3 separate regions of the Homo sapiens genome follow, and regions 1 and 2 are each linked to region 3. Evidence: promoter capture Hi-C in 16 types of primary human blood cells and fetal thymus (Javierre and others, 2016). All regions are on one chromosome and are shown on one strand. Each heading gives the region's core, a stretch centred on a gene start or on the middle of the fragment in contact. The rest is flanking DNA. Distances are from core to core; before and after follow the strand shown. Region 1 has its middle 340 kb from the start of FSTL5. Region 2 overlaps MARCHF1 (membrane associated ring-CH-type finger 1). Region 3 holds the start of NAF1 (nuclear assembly factor 1 ribonucleoprotein).

The links. The method cuts DNA at HindIII sites, captures the fragments that hold promoters and counts their contacts. A CHiCAGO score of 5 or more calls a contact.
Region 1: a fragment that was not itself captured here is called in contact with the fragment with the promoter of NAF1 in region 3 in 1 of 17 cell types (M2 macrophages); the score reaches 5.6 in M2 macrophages.
Region 2: a fragment that was not itself captured here is called in contact with the fragment with the promoter of NAF1 in region 3 in 1 of 17 cell types (naive B cells); the score reaches 5.1 in naive B cells.

The regions. Positions count from the first base shown.
Region 1 is chr4:162,500,317-162,503,905 of GRCh38, reverse strand. No RefSeq gene overlaps it. Among named protein-coding and RNA genes, the nearest start is that of FSTL5, 340 kb to the right of the region's middle. The HindIII fragment of the contact is 6,861 bases long and covers 1-3,589 here.
Region 2 is chr4:163,681,801-163,685,827 of GRCh38, reverse strand. All of the region lies in intron 5 of MARCHF1 (membrane associated ring-CH-type finger 1), which reads left to right. The region is part of intron 1 of LOC107986325 (a long non-coding RNA gene); the gene reads right to left. Among named protein-coding and RNA genes, the nearest start is that of TMA16, 190 kb to the right of the region's middle. The HindIII fragment of the contact is 3,742 bases long and covers 1-3,275 here.
Region 3 is chr4:163,164,736-163,168,543 of GRCh38, reverse strand. NAF1 (nuclear assembly factor 1 ribonucleoprotein) reads left to right here and starts at 1,654. Exons shown (of 8, transcript NM_138386.3): 1 at 1,654-2,181. The coding sequence starts at 1,817. RefSeq lists enhancers at 1,701-1,900, 1,921-2,040, 2,071-2,150, 1,642-2,509. The HindIII fragment of the contact is 3,845 bases long and covers 507-3,808 here.

The sequences.
Region 1 (3,589 bases), core at 111-2,610, 660 kb after region 3:
TCCGCCCCTCCAGGTTTAAGCAATTCTCCGTCTCAGCCTCCGGACTCGCTGGGATTACAGGTGCGTGCCACCACGCCCGGCTAATTTTTTTTTTTTTGTATTTTTAGTAGAGACGTGGTTTCACCATCTTGGCCAAGCTGGTCTTGAACTCCTGACCTCGTGATCCACCCGTCTCGGCCTCCCAAAGTGCTGGGATTACAGGTGTGAGCCACCGCGCCCGGCCTCTGCTTCTCTTTATAACAAAATTTTCTTAATGAGTTGTCAGTGCAAACTGCATCCTTTTTGTACCTTTTAATCTTTTTCTTGAAGGTTCTTCAGTCTTCCCCCTCCACCCCGTTGCTCCAGTAAAATAGCTCTTGTTAAGGTAACCAATGTTGACAAATTCAATGGTAATTTCTCTGAGCATAAATGTTTTATCAGCTGTATTAGATGTAGTTGGTCACTACCTTTTATTGAAGCCCTCTTTTCACTTGATTTTAGAGGTTTTTCTCTTTTTTAATTCTGGATCTGCATATTTGGAAACTCATTCTCAGCTTCTCTGATGATTTCTGCTCCTCTTCTAGTCGTTTAAACTTTTACACATTTCAGACCTCAATCCATGACATAGGTGTTTTCTAACTTATCTTATTACTTAAGTTTTCTCATTCAATCTCTGTATACATACATATATATGCTTATATATATATACAGTATAGTACTACTATATATAGTATAGTACTCTTTCTGTGTATGTAATATAGCACATATATATATTAAACTATGGGATATAATTTATAAGTATAGACTATACTATATATACATATATATAGAATATGTATACTTTTTCAAAATATATATATGTATACACACATGCCAATCAATACAAATGTCTGTCTCTAAACCAGATTTCTTTCATAAACTCCAGGCTTCTTGACATTTCCAGTTGAATATTTGGTATCTCAATATTGGATTTCTGAAATTATACTTCCTAAGCCTCCCATTCTGGTTTTCTTTTCCATTATAATAAGCACCACCTCATTTATCCAAGTCAAAATCTTTGAATTTTCTTTGTCTTAAAACAATCAATCCATCAGCAAATCCTGTAACTGCTATCTTCAACATTATGTACGGAAAACTAATAAGCAAGTTATTGCAAGGTTAAACGATGCACAATTACTATGCAAAAGTCTATTGCTTTTCTGTATACCAGCAATAAGCAAGTGAAATTTAAAATTTAAATAATATAAGATTGGCAATATCACTAAAATATGAAATACTTCACCACAAATCTAAGAAAATACATAATGTTGGTAAGTGGAAAACTAAAGAAATGTAATGAAAGAAAAAAAGAAGCTCTAAATAAATGAAAAGATATTTTGTGGTCACAAATTGGAAGACTCAATATTGTTAAGATGTCAATTTGTCCCAATTGATCTATAGATTCAAGAAAATTCTAATCAAAATCCAAGGAAGGTATTTGGTAGATATTGACAAACTGATCCTAAATTTTTCATGGAAAGTCAAAAGCCTTAGAATAACCAACACAATCAAGAAGAAGAGCACAGTTGGAACATTTTTAATGCCTCTTTTTATAGAGAGACAGTAAACAAGGCAATGTGTTATTGACATAGAATAGACAGAGAGATCTGTGGAACAAACTAGATGGACCAGAAAGAGATTCACACACTGATAGTCATATGATTTCTGATGAAGGATTAGAGTTGAAGACATCAAAATGACCTCATATTTAGTTTAATATAGATACAATGGCCATATGTAGAAATATTTACTATATATATGTAGTCATAGGATAGTATATATCTGTATTTCCTGCTCTATTAATTGAGCATCTCTGGAAACAATGACACCCCAGTAGCAACGAGCACACCTAGTGTCCAGATCTTGGTTTTTCATACCATTCTCCAGTAATTTTACTCCTTCACTGGAACACCTTGTAGCATCAAAAGATAGGTGCCCAAAGCACACAAACACACATGCACATACACACACACATACACACACACACACACACACACACACACACAATGATGAGAGTATGTCAAAGTGACACAGGATGCAATTAAAAGAGCCTCTAATGGCCAAAGCTGGGACAATTTGAGCAAAAATATAAAAATAAAGTAGTACTGGATTATACATCTAAATATAAAATAAATATTCATGAGCCAATACTTACATAAATAAATGATTGAATAAATAAATAAATGAAGAGAATAGGTGATTCTCCCATGCAGAAGAATTTCAAATAAGTAGATACTCTGCCCTCAAGGAAGAGGAACATAACTCTCCACTCCTTAAATGTTCAGTCATAGTGTTTAAGTTTTCTACCCGCCTCCCACATCATGGTGTAAAATACACATCATTTATAAATGCAATACCTTGGGTAGACAATCTAAGCATTATTCTTTCAAATATAGCCAATAACTCTTCTTTGTTCCAAGGCCTGTGGATATGATGTGGCATTATGATGACAATTATGTTCGTGTTGTCGTTATTTAAGAATCACTCCTAGCAGATGATTGTCTAACCACATGGTCAAAATATAAAATCATACATATGCAAGAGATTGCAATCCACTCTCCCTTCCCTCATGCCTGGGCAAATATATAAATTAGATTTCCAATTTGAGAATTGCCTCTTATCCACAGTTCTTTTTACCGGATCGACAATGCTTTCCTCTTCTACTGGGGAGTGCAAGTGCTTATTTTCATGTGAAGAACCAACTATTTCTCACTTTCAGGCAGTGTGATTTAGATCGCTTTGGTTTCACCTCCTAATTCTAAACCTAGTTATGTGATCCAGTGGAGATACTTAGGATTGCAGGAGTTGGTTCACAGAGAGGCGATGATTCAAGCCAAACCCAGGAAAACCAGGCTGGGAAACTAAAAATATATTTACATTCATGGAGACAAAACAAAATGTAACACTGGGGAAAGTGTATCTTAAAAAAAGCCTATAGGGGAAAACGATGTCCAAAGTTGAAAAGGTGTAGATTTGAAACATATTTTAATAATTGGATAATTGGGTCTAGTTGTGCTTAAAGCCAGACAGCTTTGACTTTTGAGTTAGGAGAATCCAGTGATTTACCTTTTCACTGGATAAGCCATTGTGAACTGGATCTTGATTTCTTGCCACCAAATGGGCCCTGCCCATTGCACCTCTCCACGCTCGCCCTCCCAACCCCCTCGCACTCCGCCATCCCCTGGAGGGGTGGGAGAGAGGAAATTTTTTTTTCCTGTTTTTATTTTACTTTGAGAAATTTAAAGAAAGACAACATTAAGACTAATTTTAAAAAATGCATTAGGCACTTGATTTTTCATTGATTATGAAAGCATTCTTTTATTATTAGGCTGTGACTTAAAAATTATTTTTATAGCAATTTAAACAACAGAGGTTTTTTTGAAATATCTCCCAGTTATCTGCTAAGCTACCATATCAGAGGCTTTGTGCTTGGCCTCTTACCTAGATGATTTATTGACCCCAAGTACATAAACAGATAGTGCACCATGCAAAGACTACTGACATTGAGAAGGGGACTTAATATTCACTTTACAAAAGTTCATGCTTGAATATAAATAATTATACTTTAATT
Region 2 (4,027 bases), core at 155-2,654, 520 kb before region 3:
ATTGGCATCACAGATTATGTAGGACCAATACTATCAAAGAAAAGGGGAGTGATTTCAAAAATAATTGGAGAATTGGCCGGGTGTGGTGGCTCACTCCTGTAATCCCAGCACTTTGGGAGGCTGAGGCAGGTGGATCATCTGAGGTTAGAAGTTTGAGACCAGCCTGGCCAACATGGTAAAGCCCCATCTCTACTAAAATACAAAAATTAGCCTGGGGTGGTGGCGCATGCCTGTAATCCCAGCTGCTTGGGAGGCTGAGACAGGAGAATCGCTTCAACCCAGGAGGCGGAGGTTGCAGTGAGCTGAGTTCACGCTACTGCACTCCAAGCCTGGGTGACAGAGTGAGACTCTGTCTAAGACAATAAAAATAAAAATAAAATAAATAATTGGAGAATTAATGCAGTTGTATTAAGAAAAGATTGGGAGACTTATTTTGCTAGTCAATAGTAAACTATTTGGGTTTCTTGAGAAGGGGAATAGGATAATTAAAATGGAGCTTACTAATATGAGGCATTGTAAACTTGTCACATGTTTAAGATTTATGCATTTCACTACATTAAGTCTTCACTTAACTGCCGTCAAAATGTTCTGAGAAACTGCACCTTTATGCAAAAAAAAAAGTGTAATAAAACCAGATATTTTTTGTCAGAAATGTTGTAATAAAACGATTTTTAATGAAGGGAGTTGAGGACCTACTGTCCATCATTTTTCTTAAAGCCAGTTTCCAAGAACCTATTCACAATGTTAAGCAGGACTTACTGTATATGTAAATTTTACCTAACAAAATAAATGTACACAAATATTCAATGCTGTTTAATAGTTAATGATATGCATTCTGAATTATTTAGGAATGAGGTGTACTTTAGTGTGCAGCTTACTTTGACAGGCATCGTGGAAACAAGATACATTTATGAATGGATAAAGGGATGGATAGCTGAATAAATATGTGATAAAGTAAAATTAGAAAAGTTTCAGAAATGTGGATGTTGGATATACTGATGTTTACTGCATAATTCTTTCAACTTTTGTGTTTATTTGAAAATTTCATAAAATGCTAGAAAAAAGTAGATTCATTGGTAGCAATATATAGGATAGATTGGAGGAGCAAAGGGAAGAGAGAAATGCCCAGAGGCAATAAAATAAACTGGATATGGGCTATTGAGTACTTAAGCAATGCTGGTAACAAGAAGAAGTAAATATTGATCATGATATTGGTCATTTCATGATTTAAAATGAAGAAATAGGAGTTATCAGATAAAATTAGAAATGAAATACAGAATAAAATAGAGATGAATCTTATGAAGGAATTTCTAGCTTGGTAAAAAGAACAAATGGTAGTGCTCTCAAAATCTGGTGTTGAGGAATTGGTGTGACATGTAGCCAAATGCTGGCTTTCTTTTGAGGCATTTCTGTAGCAGTTTTGTTTGTTTGTATGTTTGTTTTGTTTTTTTCTTTTCTTGAGACTGTCCAAACTGGAATTCTTTCTGACATGGGCAACATATATTCCAGTTGATATTTCATGATTTTTCTAGAGCTCCTTTTACTTGCTACACCAACATACAATCCCTGCCACATGTTCTTCCTACAATGGGACATTGACACTCTTCTATTAATTGGAGGGCCCTATGTTCCCTTCTCCTTGAAACTAGGCGAACCTTTGCTACTTCCTTGACCAACTGAAGGTGGCTTAAGAGGTACTACGTGGTGGCTCCCAAGGCAAGGTCATAAATGGTGATACAACTCTTGCCTTTCATGGTACATACCTTGAGAGGCATAAAGGCTATGCTGGCTGCCCTGAAGCCCCCATGCTGGAGAAATCACACGGTTTCCAGAGAGAGAGAGAGATGCCCAAGGAGCTTCAGCTGTTTCAGCCCCAGCCTAGCAGGTAGACGTGTGAGTGAGTGAGTGAGTGAGTGAGTGAGTGAGTGAGTGAGTGAGCCTCCACATGATGTCTGCCTTGAGCCTTCAATCCTTTTTAGCTGATACCAAGCAGAGCCCCAAGGATTATCTTTGCTGAGCCATGTCCAGAATGCAGAGTTGTGAGCAAAATAAATTGTCATCATTTTAAGCCACTAAGTTTTGAAATAATGTGTTTCTCAGCTATCATAAGTCGAACACATGCATGGACCTTTTCCAAGCAGGTCCCTTTACCCCAGCAGGAAGACCTGATTTTGTTAAGGACTATTTAAGTTAACAGAAAATATGAGCCTTGTTCCCTATCAGTGTAAATACACCTCGTTCCAACTAGTTTTTTTTCTTCATTCTGCATTACTGTCAAGATTTGGTTAGTCCCTTATCTTTAATATTTTTTAGATGAGAGACAGTCTAGTCTCTACAGCTTCCAAAATCTAGATCATTGACGTGGTTTGGCTGCATCCCCACCAAAATCTCATCTTGAATTCCCACATGTTGTGGGAGGGAATGGGTGGGAGGTAACTGAATCATGGGGGCAGGTCTTTCCCGTGCTGTTCTTGTGATAGTGAATATGTCTCACAAGATCTGATGGTTTTATAAGAGGCAGTTTCCCTGCACAAGCTCTCTTCTCTTGTCGACCACCATGTGAGATGTGCCTTTTACCTTCCGCCATGATTGTGAGGCCTCCCCAGCCACGTGGAAGTGTAAGTCCATTAAACCTCTTTCTTTTGCAAATTGCCCAGTCTCAAATATGTCTTTATCAGCAGTGTGAAAACAGACTAATACATCATAAATATCAAACTGAGGTCTACCACCAATCCTTAGTGGCACCTCTATGCAAAGTAGAAAAGGCACCACTTACTCAAGATATTATACTTCTATTTGTCAAAAAATTATCAAAATATACTGATTTTATTACAACAATACATTTTAATGCCACTTGACTGAAATTATTTTGCTGTACTAAACTATAATATCTATGTATTAGCCCGTTCTCACACTGCTAATAAAGACGTACCCAAGACTGAGTAATTTATAAAGGAAAAAGGTTTAATTGGCTCACAGTTTAGCATGGCTTGGGAGGCCTCAGGAAACTTACGGTTATAGCAGAAGGGGAGGCAAACATGTCCTTCTTCACATGGCAGCAGGAACAGAACTGCTGAGCAAAGGGGGAAAAGCCCCTTATAAAACAATCAGATGTCATGAGAACTCACTATTATGAGAACAGCAGCATGGGGGTAACCACCCCCATGATTCAATTACCTCCCACTGGGTCCCTTCCACAGCATGTGAGGATTATGGGAACTAATCTGGCCCAAGCTGTACCTTGGCCCCTTTTAACCATGGCTGAACCTGAAGCTTAAGCAGCTGGAATGCAGGGCACCACGTCTCGAGGCTGCACAGAGCAGGGGGTCCCTGGGCCCGCGGCACTAAACCATTTCTCCCCCCAGGCCTCTAGGCCTGTGATGGGAGGTGCTGCCACAAAGGTCTCTGCCGTGCCCTAGAGACATTTTCCCCATTGTCTCTTGGTGATTAACATTCGGCCCCTCATTACTTATGCAAATTTCTGCAGCTGGCTTGAATTTCTCCCCAGAAAATGGGTTTTTCCTTTTCTATCACATTGTCAGGCTGCAAATTTTCCAAACTTTCATGCTCTGTTTCCTCTCGAATACTTTGCTGCTTAGAAATGTCTTCCACCAGACACCCTAAATGATCTCTCTCAAGTTCAAAGTTTCACTATCTCTAGGGCAAGGGCAAAATGCTGCCAGTCTCTTGGTTAGAGCATAGTAAGAACAACTTTTATAGTTCCCAACAAGTTCCTCATCTCCATCTGAGACCAGCTCAGCCTGGATTTCATTGTCCATATCACTATCAGCATTTTTGTAAAAGCTGTTCAACAAGTTAAGAAGTTCTAAAGTTTCCCACATCTTCCTGTCTTTTGAGCCCTCCAAGTCTCTAGGAAGTTCCAAACTTTCCCACATTTTCCTGTCTTCTGAGTCCTTCAAACTATTCCAGCCTCTGCCTATTACCCAGTTCCAAAGTTGCTTCCACATTTTCTGGTATCCTTACAGCAACACCCCACTCTACTGCTACCAATTTACTGTATTAGTCT
Region 3 (3,808 bases), core at 405-2,904:
CTCAAACGTCTTCCCTTCTCAAATCTGTACTGCATGTCTTTGCAAGATCATTGTTAATTAAATATTTTATTCGTGAGTTCATGCATTGTTCCATTTTCCAAGTATTTTTGCACACTGAATGTATGACATGCCACTCCCTTATATAAAGCCTTACTTAGTGCTCACATGAACTAAATGAGATAGTATTTTTATCTCCATTTTACAGATAAGGAAATTAGGATTTAGATTAACTGCCCAAAGTCAGTAACACCAAACACAAAATGGTAGAGCTGAGGCCTGAACACAGGTCTTTTTAGTTGAAAACTCTGAGCTCTGCTTAATCATTGTGCTAGTAAGTTCGTATCCCAAGTTTAAAGTCCTTCTTCACTTTGGAGGATTTCCATGAAATAGCCTACCAATCCTACTTCCCATTTCTGCTGCACTTGGATTTTCTATTTCATATTTCAAATATTTTTCTAGTTATCTCCTGTGCATTGCCCTTCTCTACTTCAAGTAGATTGTAAGCTTCTTAAAACCTTACTCTTATTACACTTGCCTTGCATTTCTATGAAGATCTACTGTTGTAGATGACACACTAAATTCTCAGTGAATAATTTATAAAATCTTTAGCACAGTCCTTGGCACATATGCATGTTTAACAAATGGTATCAATGATTATTATTACTACACAGGGACTGATGCCTCAAACTGAAGACCTAATAGGAAACCAGAAAATTCTGATCTCTTCCTCAGTCCTAAGAACTCTGCTTGCTTTCTCCACAATTTAGACTAGTGGTTTCCAACAATAAGTGAGTACATTTCAGTCTCATAGTCTCATCTCTCTACTACGAAACAGTGCTAAGTATGATATAGACATCACCATAACATGAACAACACAGCAAAATTTTGTCCATTACTGCTCTCTTTGAGGGTACTTTGGAGAAAGGAAAATGGAATAGTTGTAGTTACATTTTTGAAAAAATGGTTAATACCCTATCTATCGACAGATGGATCTATTGATGGATAAACTTCATTTAACTTTCATGAAGTTACTAGCGTCTTGTCAAGACTTCCTGGCTCAAGTTTCTGATGTACAGAACTTAGCATTCTTCAGGCACCCCCCTGTTGTATAATCCCTGCTTCATTTTGGCGCTTCAAGCAGAATTGGTTCACATGCAGCAATAGGAAAATCCGACATTCAGGCCTTGAATGGTTCACATGACGCAGTGAAAACGGTCGATTTAGGGCCTCCCTAGTCCTGATTATTTTTTTTTGAGACGGAGTCTCGCTTTCTCGCCAGGCTGGAGTGCAGTGGCGCGGTCTCGGCTCACTCCAACTTCCGCCTGCTGGGTTCAAGCGATTCTCCTGCCTCAGCCTCCCAAGTAGTGGGAATTACAGGCACGCGCCACCATGCCCAGCTAATTTTTGTATTTTTAGTAGAGATGGGGTTTCACCATGTTGGGCAGGCTGGTCTGTGAACTCCTGACCTTGTGATCCGCCCACCTCGGTCTCCCAAAGTGCTGGGATTACGAGCGTGAGCCACGGCGCCCGACCCCCTAATCCTGATTTTCGAAGATATGACGCATGTATCCTGCCCCCGCGAGCGCCGTCGCGCCGTCGCGCCACATACGTCACACGCTCTTCGGAAAGCGTTGCTGCGTAAATGGCGGGGGCGTGTCTTTTGGCTCCTCCGCGTGTAGTTACCTGAGAAACGCGGGAAGTTGGGCCCAGGCAGTGTTGCTGCGGTTGCCTAAGTTGTTTTTCTATTTCTGGAGAGAGCCGTGAGCTTGTCCAGGGGCCCCAATCCTGAGGCCGACCCGGTTTCTGGCGCGGTGCGATGGAGGTAGTGGAGGCCGCCGCCGCTCAGCTGGAAACTCTGAAATTCAATGGCACCGACTTTGGAGTTGGGGAAGGTCCGGCGGCTCCGTCTCCGGGCTCTGCCCCTGTGCCAGGGACACAGCCGCCGCTACAGTCGTTTGAGGGGTCCCCGGACGCTGGGCAGACCGTGGAGGTTAAGCCTGCCGGGGAGCAGCCTCTGCAGCCCGTTCTGAACGCCGTCGCGGCCGGGACCCCGGCGCCGCAGCCACAGCCACCGGCTGAATCGCCGGCCTGCGGAGACTGCGTCACCTCCCCAGGAGCCGCAGAGCCTGCGCGGGCGCCGGACTCCTTGGAGACCTCGGACTCGGATTCGGACTCGGACAGGTCGGGTGCCTAAGGGACCCGGAGCTGTGGGGAGAGGTCTTGTATGACGGGCGGGGGTGGCTGGGGCCTAGGAGCCTAGAGGTTGCTTGTGTGGGCCCTGGAGGGTGGGCAGGTCGTTGGTGCTCCGGGCTCACGTGTTGAAGTATTGGCTCCGACTGCCCCTTATTCGCTGCCTCTCAAAGCAGGTCGCGTTGTGAATCTGAGCTTAGTACTGACTTATTTCCTAAATTTGGTGGCCTGAAGGGTTCTATGTATAGATCGTATCATTTTTTGTTAGACTTTAGAAAACCCGAGGATCTTAGGTTATTTCCGTAACTACTCAGTTTAGGCTGTACTTTTGTGGTTATAGTTGAGTTTTGTGTCAGATCTGATTTTTTTTTATCATCACATCTAGGCTTTGTTTTTTGAACCACATACATTGGGGATCAGGAAAAGTATTATTTTTTGTGTTTCAAAGCTGGCTCTTGATGATTACGTTAATTTATAGAATCCTTGCAGGGAACACGTGTTTATGAAAGTAGCCAAACAGTGTTATTTAGTAGTATCTTATGCTTCTTACGTTTTGTGAGAGCCTTTCCCCCTTGCCCCCACACCTGTCTTTTAAATATGAAATCTCTGGGCTGGAGAGGACTCCAGCATGTGGGATGTTACTAAACCACACTGAACATTGTCTACAAATAGTTGAGTGTGTTGAGTGGGGTACTGAACAGGTTAACAAGATAGACACGTGTTGAGGAGGTGAGAAGTTTAGTTTTCAGGGAAGTCATCAGCGGAGAGTGGAAGTGAAGAAGGCTGAAGGATTTGAGTAGAAGGAGAGGGTATGAAATGTACTGGGAGGGGGAAGTAACAACTGTAAACAAGGTTGGATTTCTTGGCAGTACTAAGATTGCAGTATAATCATCTTGTGGGATTTCAGAGCTCATTTTACTAGCAAAGAAAAGTAAATGGTAGATGATTTGGGGATACGTTTTGAAAGCAGAAGGGATATGGCGTCATAATAGGCCAACTTAGTGTCAGGATACTACTTCTGACTCTGTGGGTGATGGCAGAGGATACCAAATATTTGAAGAAGTCAAAAGGGGTACAACTTTTTGCCAGTTAACAGCAGTGAAATCAAATGGAAACTGAAGAAGCAGGTTTAGTTAGTATAATGCACTTTTTCTTGTTTTAACTTGCTATGAGTGTGGGTGTATAGGCCATTCGTACAAAGGTGGCCAGTATGCCGTCAGAGATTGGACATGGAGTTTAGAGATGTCATAGCTGAAGATTTAGGCGTTAATTCACATGGATGATGACTGAAATCATTAATGTGTATGGGATTATCCATGAAAGTAGTAGCGAAAGAAGAGAAAGTGAGGATGGAACCCTTAAAAATAGTATATAAAAGGGCTTCAAGTGGGGAGCCAACAAACAAAATTTAAACTGAGACAGTGGTTGCTGTTAACGATAATTTCTGTGGAAGATAAGGACCAAGTGAGTTTTCAGAAAGTAGAATGGTCTACATACTTTCGTAACTGAGGATTTCCCAAGTTGTCTGTAGCCTGAGAAGAAACTCATTAAGCAATCTGGCAATTAAGCGATCTGGTGGTTGTGACTAAGAGAGGTGCCATGCCCAGAATTCCCTTTT